3 separate regions of the Homo sapiens genome follow, and all the other regions are linked to region 3. The links are contacts of gene promoters, found by promoter capture Hi-C in blood cells and fetal thymus (Javierre and others, 2016). All regions are on one chromosome and are shown on one strand. Each heading gives the region's core, a stretch centred on a gene start or on the middle of the fragment in contact. The rest is flanking DNA. Distances are from core to core; before and after follow the strand shown. Region 1 overlaps TMEM87A (transmembrane protein 87A). Region 2 holds the start of TTBK2 (tau tubulin kinase 2). Region 3 holds the start of LRRC57 (leucine rich repeat containing 57).

What was found. The method cuts DNA at HindIII sites, captures the fragments that hold promoters and counts their contacts. A CHiCAGO score of 5 or more calls a contact.
Region 1: a fragment that was not itself captured here is called in contact with the fragment with the promoter of LRRC57 in region 3 in 1 of 17 cell types (fetal thymus); the score reaches 6.9 in fetal thymus.
Region 2: a fragment that was not itself captured here is called in contact with the fragment with the promoter of LRRC57 in region 3 in 2 of 17 cell types (fetal thymus and naive CD4 T cells); the score reaches 6.0 in fetal thymus.

What each region holds. Positions count from the first base shown.
Region 1 is chr15:42,268,132-42,271,615 of GRCh38, forward strand. All of the region lies in intron 2 of TMEM87A (transmembrane protein 87A), which reads right to left. Among named protein-coding and RNA genes, the nearest start is that of GANC, 3.3 kb to the right of the region's middle. The HindIII fragment of the contact is 1,786 bases long and covers 1,213-2,998 here.
Region 2 is chr15:42,917,884-42,921,096 of GRCh38, forward strand. TTBK2 (tau tubulin kinase 2) reads right to left here and starts at 2,895. Exons shown (of 15, transcript NM_173500.4): 1 at 2,555-2,895. RefSeq lists enhancers at 2,213-2,713, 2,714-3,213 and a silencer at 2,487-2,896. The HindIII fragment of the contact is 1,036 bases long and covers 1,249-2,284 here.
Region 3 is chr15:42,547,154-42,550,470 of GRCh38, forward strand. LRRC57 (leucine rich repeat containing 57) reads right to left here and starts at 1,640. Exons shown (of 6, transcript NM_153260.3): 1 at 1,540-1,640; 2 at 1,198-1,303; 3 at 953-1,091; 4 at 108-376. The coding sequence starts at 1,281. It overlaps HAUS2 (HAUS augmin like complex subunit 2), which reads left to right and starts at 1,685. Exons shown (of 6, transcript NM_018097.3): 1 at 1,685-1,812. The coding sequence starts at 1,720. RefSeq lists an enhancer at 1,476-1,945. The HindIII fragment of the contact is 3,855 bases long and covers 1-3,317 here.

The sequences.
Region 1 (3,484 bases), core at 856-3,355, 280 kb before region 3:
GAGATACTCAAAGACCATCCTTTCTCCAAACATAAGGTATTGAAATAATACATGCAAAAAGAGCTGGATATTAAGATAAAAGTATTGTTGTTCATAGAAAAATAGCAGGTAAGCAGTTTTTAACCTCTGGAAACTGTGGATCTATTTTTATGCCATAAAGTCCTAACTTCTGGATCTCTATTGAGAAAAACCTGGGAGTGATAAAGCACTCTAAATTCAAGCCAGTCTTCTATTATTTAAGTATTTATTGAGCAGGCTAGGTGCGGTAGCTCACACCTATAACCCCAGAAGTTTGGGAGGCCAAGGCAGGGGGATCGCTTGAGCCCAGGAGCTCAAGACCACCCTAGGCAACATAGTGAGAACTCATCTCTACAAAAAATGATTAAAAAGCTAGGCGTGGTGGTACATGCTTGTAGTCCCAGCTACTCAGGCAAGGGAGGCAGGAGGATCACTTGAGCCCAGGAGGTCAAGTCTGCAGTGAGCCATGATGGTACCACTGCACTCCAGCCTGGGCGACAGAGCGAGACCCTGTCTCAAAAAACATAAATAAATAAATAAATAAATAAATAGCACAAGTATTACAAAGGTATAATGGCACACTGTTAGGCTAAAGAGGGAAACGAGTGGAAACAAATTATTAAGACCCTTCAAAAGGCTAGTTGAAGAGACAAGCAATAATAAAATTAGGAATGCATGTCACAAGGCAATATTAACAACTGTTAAATGGTGTTAAATGATGATATACATAATAGTTCCACTGAGAGCAAAATTGCTATCTCAGACCTTGAAAGATATCAAGATAGAACAGAAAGAGCAATGAACGAAAAGCAAACATGGCTGTGGAAGGTAGAAATAGCAAAAGCAAAGATAAGAGTATCAGATTTTTTTTTTCAAAGCCTACCTTAAAAGAGGCCTCAAGGAAGCTCATGTTATCATGGAAGCTTCATAAAGCTCATTAAACACAGTTTGGAACACAGTATTCTAATGGATCAAGACATTATTCTGAAGACTTGGGAGGGTAAATCTGACTATATGACTGATTAGCTGGAGGAAGTCAGTATTCGCTTTTATCTTTGATTCTAGCTATGAAAGGAAAAATATACTAAAGACTCCCTACTTTATATAAATGTAATAATAAACATGACAAAAATAAACATGACTGCATTTAGGAATCTACTTTTCATTCATAACAAAAGAAGCAACCTAATTATAAGCTTCCTTTTTTTTTCTTTTAAACTGTTTTCTCAAACTAATTTTTAGATGACCAACACATTTTCAAAGGACTCTATTAGAATGTTCAAAAATTTGACCTGTTGGATAGAATTTATGGAAATGATAAAAAGCAATTGGGCTATGAACTATTCAAAATAATCCATACAGGGACAGGATTAACTAATAAAAAGCCAGTAAGAACACATCCCCCAAACAGGAGACTTGTAAGGAAATTTGGCAGCAAAAATACTGCTGTTTATGTTACAAGACAATATTTAGAACTTTAAATGAAAGGCTTTAAGAGACAATAAGGTCGGGCGCGGTGGCTCACGCCTGTAATCCCAGCACTTTGGGAGGCCGAGGCGGGTGGATCATGAGGTCAGGAGATCGAGACCATCCTGGCTAACAAGGTGAAACCCCGTCTCTACTAAAAATACAAAAAATTAGCCGGGCGCGGTGGCGGGCGCCTGTAGTCCCAGCTACTCGGGAGGCTGAGGCAGGAGAATGGCGTGAACCTGGGAAGCGGAGCTTGCAGTGAGCCGAGATTGCGCCACTGCAATCCGCAGTCCGGCCTGGGCGACAGAGCGAGACTCCGTCTCAAAAAAAAAAAAAAAAAAAAAAATGGTCCCAGCTATTCCATGGAAAGCTATATACCATCCCCCAAAAAGTACAAAATCAAAGACAACTGGTAAATATGAGAAAGCACAGAAATAACAAAGAAAAAGATAATGTTAAAGTGTCTCAGGCCGGGCACGGTGGCTCACACCTGTAATCCCAGAACTGTGGGAGGCCAAGGCAGGCAGATAACTTGAGGTCGGGAGTTCGAGACCAGCCTGGCCAATATGGTGAAACCCCCACCTCTGCTAAAAATACAAAAATTAGCCGGCGTGGTGGCACGCGCCTATAGTCCCAGCTACTCGGGAGGCTGAGGCAGAAGAATCGCTTGAACCCAGGAAGCAGAGGTTACAGTGAGCCGAGATCGTGCCACTGCATTCCAGCCTGGGCGTCACAGCAAAACTCCGTCTCAAAAAACAACAACAAAAAATAAAGTGCCTCAAATCCTCCAAAAACAATGAAATATAAACACTTCAAAATACGCAGTTAGGGCTGGGCATAGAGACTCATGCCTGTAATCCCAGCTACTCGGGAGGCTGAGGCAGGAGAATCGCTTGAACCTGGGAGGTGGAGGTTGCAGTAAGCCAAGATCGTACCACTGCACTCCAGTCTGGGTGACAGAGTGAGACACCATCTTAAAAAAAATGCAGTTGGTTTAACTTGGCAAAACACCACTAGATCAAACTACACGAGAAAAAAAGACTGGACCTAATAAAAGAATAAAACAGCAAACAGGCTGTCAAGCTATTCCAAAAGACAAGGGTTACTAGGTTACCCAGTAAACCAATCTCACAAGGCCAGTGTCAGAGTAGATTTGATCTAAATCAAATATAAGTCACTGGTCAGGAGACTGATTACATATTCATGGATACAGTATATATTCTTCAGAGAAATTCTACCTGCTGTTTTCACTCCCACTAGAATGTAAGCTCGATGAGGGAAGAACATTTTTCTATTACTTCCCCACAGTCTATGCAATAAGTAATAATTACTCACTAAACAATTGAAAAGAATAAAATTATCCAACTATGACTTAAAATTTTGCACTTCCGTGAAGACAGTATGCATAGAATCACACATCTATCATCAGGATTTTTATCCCTCATCTAGAAATAAAGCTGCCCACGATCAATCGTTCTCTAAATTAAAGCCGGTTTCAGAACTAAAAGGAAGCTTTTACTGAACACACAATGGGATACTTTAGATTCAGATACAGTCATTTTTCCACTAGACAAACTAGTTTTGTTCTACATAATCCCTATTTCTTGATAATATCTGAGCTTCCTCTTCCAAAGCAGTAAAATACTCCTTTTGTAAATAAAGGATCTACTAAATATATTCCTTCACAGCCAACGGCCTGACAAACCTAGGTCATGTTTGCAGTAAACATTTAACAAGCACACAAGAGTAAAACCTCTTTAATCTACACAGAACAGATTAAAACCACCATGCAGGGAATCAACCCCAACATAATCACAGTCATTCACTACATAACATTTCAGTAAATGAAAGACTACATATACAACGGGGGTCCCATAAAATTGTAATATCGTATTTGTACTCTACTTTCCTATGTTTAGATATACAAAAACTTACCATTGTGTTACAACCACCTATAGCATTCAGTACAGTAACATGTTATACAGGTTTATAGCCT
Region 2 (3,213 bases), core at 517-3,016, 370 kb after region 3:
GAAAACACTGTTTGCTATATATTTGTAAAAGAATATTTCCTATAGGATTTTTTTTTAAGTGTGGAAAGAAGTAAGCTATAGCTATATTTTCCATAATTCTCAAAGACTTTTTATTTTACTGATCAACACAGTCCTTACTAGATCAATAATGATCCTAAACACTTTCCCTTGTCATAGATTTGTATTTATTTATTTATTTATTTATTTCAAGAGATGGGGTCTTGCTCTGTCACCCAGCCTGGAGTGCAGTGGAGCGATCACAGATCACAGCAGCCTCAACCTCCGATCCACCCCCTCAGTCTCCCTAGTAGCTGGAACCACAGGTGTGAGCCACCATGCCCGGCTAAATTTTTGTTTGTTTTTTGTAGAGACAGGATCTCCCTGTGTTACTTAGGCTGGTCTCAAACTCCTGGGCTCAAGCGATCCTCCTGCCTTGGCCTCCCAAAGTGCTGGGATTACAGGCATGAGGTTTTTTTTTTTAAAGCAGCAAACATTTATTATCTCACACAGTTTCTCAGGATTCGAATCTGAAAGTGTCTTAGGTAGGTGGTTCTGGCTCAGAGTCTCTCATGAGTTGCAATCAAGCAGTCATCTGGATATGTTACTTTTTAAAGTTATAAAGCATATAAAAAAGTGGCTGCCCCCCACCAAAGTGAAATTTAAATTCCATGATCACAGCTAACTCGGATCTGTAATATTCATTTACTTTGAAAAACCAATAACTTATCATTGCCACATTTTTAGTGCACTTTTTAGAAGTAAAATACGCTCGAAAATGGTCTAAATTATGCAAACTTCCCTTCTAGTATTACATTTAAAGATACTTGAAGCCCCACATAATTGAGTTCAATTTGCTAAAGCAAATGAGGTCTAACCTCTTGAAGATTTCCTGAAGTATTAAAATAATCAACACTTAAAATCAAAAGAAGATACAACAATCTAAAGTCATATATAATGCAATAGAGAATTTACTAAATTATGTATTAACCATAGTACAAGATAATGAGCAAGATATATTATTCTCAGCCCCCTAACCAATGTACAAATTTGCATCAACTTGATATTATATATTAAATTAATGAAGTTATGGACTTTAATTTCTTCTGTGTCTAAAACTGGAAGAGGGAAGAAAGCATTTCCTAACATTCTATCATAAAAGAAAAATGTTAAGAGAAACTTTCCTTTAAAACCATGCTTCATATGTCCCCTTCGGTGTCTTGATAAAATGTTATCATACAGGAAAACATAAGCTTCTAAATCAAAGATTTCCTTCAATGTTTTCAATTTGCATAGATCACAATATAACACACACATTATTTGAAACATTTTTTGACTTCAGACAAATGCCTCAAGATTAATCATATTAAGCTATATTTGTCATCATTACTGCTTCTTTATTTAAAAAAAAAAAGGAAATAAAGCAAGCAATACATAGCATTCAATTCCCTTGATAAGTTAAAATCATTTCCCCCTTCTATCCCCAAATGAACTTTATTCTATTCCATTTAGCCAAAGGTACACAGCCAACACATCTTTGTGTTATACTGTGGCAAATCAGGGTTTAGATACCAATGCAACTATTATCAATGGCTCAGAACCAAACATTGTTAACAAAACACACTGAGTGGATCCTCCCTCTGCGTGTGTGTCTACATGTGCCCATTCATAACATGACCCTCCTACACACACAGAAACTCAATTTCTACTGAATTACAAAACATCTTCACATTATTAGAAGTGTATAATAAAACTGTCCTCTTTAATGTTCAAAGAAAGAATAATTTCTAAAGCGATGAGAGAGAAGAGTTAATACCAGGATTGCTGCTACCCATCAACTTTAATTCAAAGCAAAGTACAACTCAATGTCATTTTTACCTCTACTGTAGCCTCGACGGATACAAAATTAACTTCGCTGTAGAATAAAGTATCCTGGCATCCCAATGGATTATTTACTTCTCCGATTTGACAGAACATATACGTGAGTCTTTTGTCCCTCCCACAGCATCCCAGGGTGTCAACATCATCTCTGCCACAGCAAATGACGAGCAAATCCCTCAGATCATTACTTCAGCACCCTAAGTACAAGAAAGTCGCGGCCTTCACTGTCGTTACAACACAGCAAACAGATTCAGTAGTCCCATGTTCCTTTCCATGATAGTTGGGGAGGCGGGGTGGGAAATAAGCGCTCAGATTTCCTAGGAATCCTTCGTGTTCGGTGCTGGTACCAGAAGTGGCATGGGTACAAGTGATATGTGGGTCACCCACAGAGAGAGACGCAGAACGAAGCTTCGTGACCCTCCAAGTTCAGTGAAGACACCCAAAGCCTGGGGCAAAACGAGGCGGCAGCCTTCGGGGAAATCGGGCAGAACCAGAACGATCTCCGAGATGGAGAGTGACGGGGTCTGGCACGAGCCCCGGGCTTGCAGCGAACTGAAAGTCCCCGGTACCCCTCCCCTCCTCAGCAGGCTCGGTCACTCGGCGAGGGGTGCGGCCGGAGGAGGGGGTCGAGACTGGGGGAGGGCGGCGCCCTGGGGGGTCGGGGGGTGTGTCCTACCTGGGCCGTGGCGGACGCAGGGGTTTCTGGAGGAGGGCTCTGGTCCAGCTCAGGACCGGGACCGGCGGGGGTTAACCCTCGGCAGGCGGGACCGCCACTGCCTGCCCATCCCCCACCGCCGACTGCGGCGGGACCCGAGCGCGGCTTCCAGGGCCGGCCGGCTGGGTAGTCCCCTGGGGTACCGTCCGCGTTTACTGGCGGCGGCGGCGGCGGCTGCTGCTGCTGTTACTGCTGCTGCCGGCTCCCCCAAGCCGCTGCTCTTGTGCCAGCACCTGCTCCCCCTCCTGCCGCCGCCGCCGCCTCGTCCCCACCGCTCCCATCGCCGCTGCGGCGACTACTGCAGAGCCCGCTGACCCGACCCGACGTTATTCTCCCCCCTCGTAACCCGACACAGCCTAGCCCACCTGCCCTGCCAGCGCGCACGCCCACCTCTCCGCTACAGGTGCTGATTGGAGAGTGCGTTCCGAACTCGCAGCGTCGGTTGGCTAGTCCCATTGCCTATCACGAAGGGGGCGGAGAGTCGGGCAGAAACCGTCTCCGCCCCCCACCGGAGAATTGCCGCTATCTTCAGGTTTGCCTGAGAGGGCGAGTTACCGGGAAAGGAGCATCACAATGGCAGCGCGCATGCGCCTAGGAATTCTGGGCCTCGTAGTTCCAGC
Region 3 (3,317 bases), core at 390-2,889:
GATACTTAGCTCTATGATGGCAGTTTAGGAAACAAGAGGTTAACAGGTATCAGGAGACCTTAAAGCCACACATATGCTGTAGGAAAAAAAACCTTAAAGCTCTAGACCTGATTCTGGTTGAGGTTGAGTTCGATGACTTGCAGCTCTCCCACTGAGTCAGGTATACTTCGAATCTGGTTCTTAGAGAGATCCATCACATCCAGGTGCCGTAGGCTACAAAGTTGGGGAGGTAATGCTCCCAGTTGGTTCCCAGAGAGGCTCAGGGTCTTGAGGGCAGAGAGTTGCCCAAAGGTAGACGGCAGCTCTCTAAGGTGATTGTTGTTTAGGCTTAGCGTCTCTAGTTTTTTCAGATTGCATATCTCATCAGGCAGAACAGCTGGCAAAGAAAAATTTTTTTAAAACCTGAATGTGATAGAGCTGAAAACAACTTTGATGAAGTTTATAAAGACTATATGGCAGCCTGCTTCGCCTCTTGTTAATATATGTAAAACTCCCACATGTGCCATTTTTAGATATTGCATTTTACCAACATAGTCTTTAGAAGGTGAGGGTGCCATCAAAATGCCGGAGAGCATTTGTGTGTATAATGGGCTCCTTTTGTAAAGGGGCCCAAGGCACAATCCGACAGCAATTTTGTGATATTTGGAAGATCCTCCCCTTCTCATCCATCCCCCATTCCAAGTTAGGTAGCTTTGTTTACATTACATCCCCAAAATGTTCTTCTCTTTCAAGTCCAAATTAACCCAGTAACAATCATTATAACACCCAATCATTATAAGGCTTATTTTAGATGTAATTACAAGAAGTAGAAAGAAGGCTTCAAGGATTCCGGCATTCGCAACTTGAGCCCTCCTGCACGGTTTCATAACAAAAACAAAAATCAGCTTGTAAGAGAAAACCACCCCTGGTAACAGCTGATCACTAGCAAAAGCCTCCCTGGCGAGAGCCATACTCAGTTTGTTGTTGTTCAGGGAGAGGCTCTTCAGCAGAGTGAACTTTCCTATCAGCAAAGGCGGTAGGCTTTCGATCTTGTTGTTGGACAAGTCGATGGTCCTGAGATTGCTCGTCAGCTTCTGCAAGTCTGCGGGGAACTGGAGAAAGGAGTTCACAGCGTGGGGAATCCCGCACCGACTAAGTTCGCCGCCCCCGCCGTCCCTCTCCCTTTAAGTTCCCTGGTCGTGTCCCTCCCAGTCTCACCTCGGTCAGCCCTCGGTCCTTAAGCTGAAAGACACCAGTTTTCTGCGCCGTTTCCACATGAGCGCGGAGCGCACTGTTTCCCATCCTAGCGCCGCGGCTCAGGTCCCTGCGGGAAGGAAGCGCTGCTGTCACCGCCCAGTCCACCCGGTCGGCCTCCCGGCTGGGGCTCCTGCCCCAGCTCTCAACTCCCGCCGATCCCTGGCTCCTGGGGCCCGACCCAAGAGCGACAAGGAAGAAACGGAAGAACACACAGCCCGACCACCAAGCCCTGCCGCCTTTGCAGCTCTGCGGAGGCCAGGCGCCTCTGGGAGCCTACGGAAGATCAGGGAGCCCCGGACTCGCCTCCCACCGCTCAGCTGCCGTAAGGCTCCGCAGGTGAAGACCCAGGACCCGCAGTAGCCGGGATGCGCTCCCCGGCTTAGTCCCGGGCGGGAACGCCCTGTGACGTCATCGAGCCGCGCCGTGCGTTCGCCCTGCGATCCCGCTCACTCTTGGCGCCTTCGCGGAAGGTGCGTCCGAGCCATGGCCGCTGCCAACCCGTGGGACCCGGCGTCCGCGCCTAACGGCGCTGGGCTAGTGCTAGGCCACTTCATAGCTTCGGGGATGGTCAATCAGGTACGTGGGGGTGGCGGTGGTGTCATCAAGGGGGTGCCCAAGGTGGCAACAATATGGCTGTGAGTTGGTGCTGCTGGCTGTGGGAGTGGTGAGGGTCCTGGTTGGGGTCTGTACTAGAGTAATAAGAGCCCCTTCCAGGCAACAGCCGCGAACGTTCTGCCGTGGATGCTTGGAAAGCGGGGATCTGAGTAGATGGTGTTTAGGGTAGACTGTGTTTTGAGTGTCTGTAGGGTAAATTTGTCCCAGTCCAGTTTGTGGGAGATTAGACTGTTACCAGCCTTTTTTTCATCCAGTGATACTGCCTCTAGACTGTAGTGTAAGGGCGGGGATGGGAAATACGGGTCGTTCTGTCCCCTTGCGGAACAAGCATTTCCAACAACCCTCGTTTGTGGGAAGTGTTGAATCGTATTTGGGGCGGGAGGTGCTGGGTAGAGAAGAGCGCCAGAAGCTCTTTTTTGACATTTTTATTTTATTTTATTATTTATTTATTTATTTATATGAGACAGAGTCTCGCTCTAACGCCCAGGCTGGAGTGCAGTGGCGTGGTCTCGGCTCACTGCAACCTCCGCCTTCCTGGTTCAAGCGATTCTCCTGCCTCAGCCTCTGGAGTAGCTGGGACTACAGGCGCCCACCACCACACCCAGCTAATTTTTTTTTGTATGTTTAGTAGAGACGGGGTTTCACCTTGTAAGCCAGGATGGTCCCGATCTCCTGACCTCGTGATCCACCCGCCTCGGCCTCCCAAAGTGCTGGGATTACAGGCGTGAGCCACCGCGCCCGGCCTTGGCATCTTTAAAGGCAAAAAAAAAAAAAAAAAAAAAAAAGTATTGGCTAAAAAGATAAGACCTTGGAACGTGAATGGAGGAAGAGATTAATTTTGAGAAGGAGAGAAAAGAGACATTAACCCAAGGAGTCACGGAGTGGCAGTTTTAGGTTGGGCAAGAGGAGCATGTCGGAGGAAGGAGCCAACAGAGGGAGAAATTGAACATGTGAGGAAATAATGGAATGCAGTGACAGGAGGGCATGGGGCAAGTGGGATCAAGGGCATTGAGAAAAATGGGGAAATAAATTTTGATATATAGAGGAAGTTGAGAAATTTCACTAAAAAGAAAACAGAAAAGTTAAACTGATCTGTAAAAATCAGCACATATTAGCCGGCATGGTGGCGTACACCTGTAGTCCCAACTACTCCGCGGACCACATGGGTCCTGGAGGCTCAGATGGGAAGATGGCTTGAGCTTAAGAGATGGAGGTTGCAGTGAGATGCGATCGGGCCACTGCACTTAGCCTGGGCGACAGAGTGAGACCCTGTCTCAGGGAAAAAAAAAAAAAAAAAAGCACTACAAACATGATGGAAGATTTACGGAAAATACATAACTTTTTATAGTCAGAAGAGCCATTAGAGACTCTAATACCTTACAGTATTTTTTAATTTAAGAAACTAAGGCTTAGACCAAGAAACTTGCCCATGGTCACTAGACTGTTAAAGGAGAATTAGATCTTAG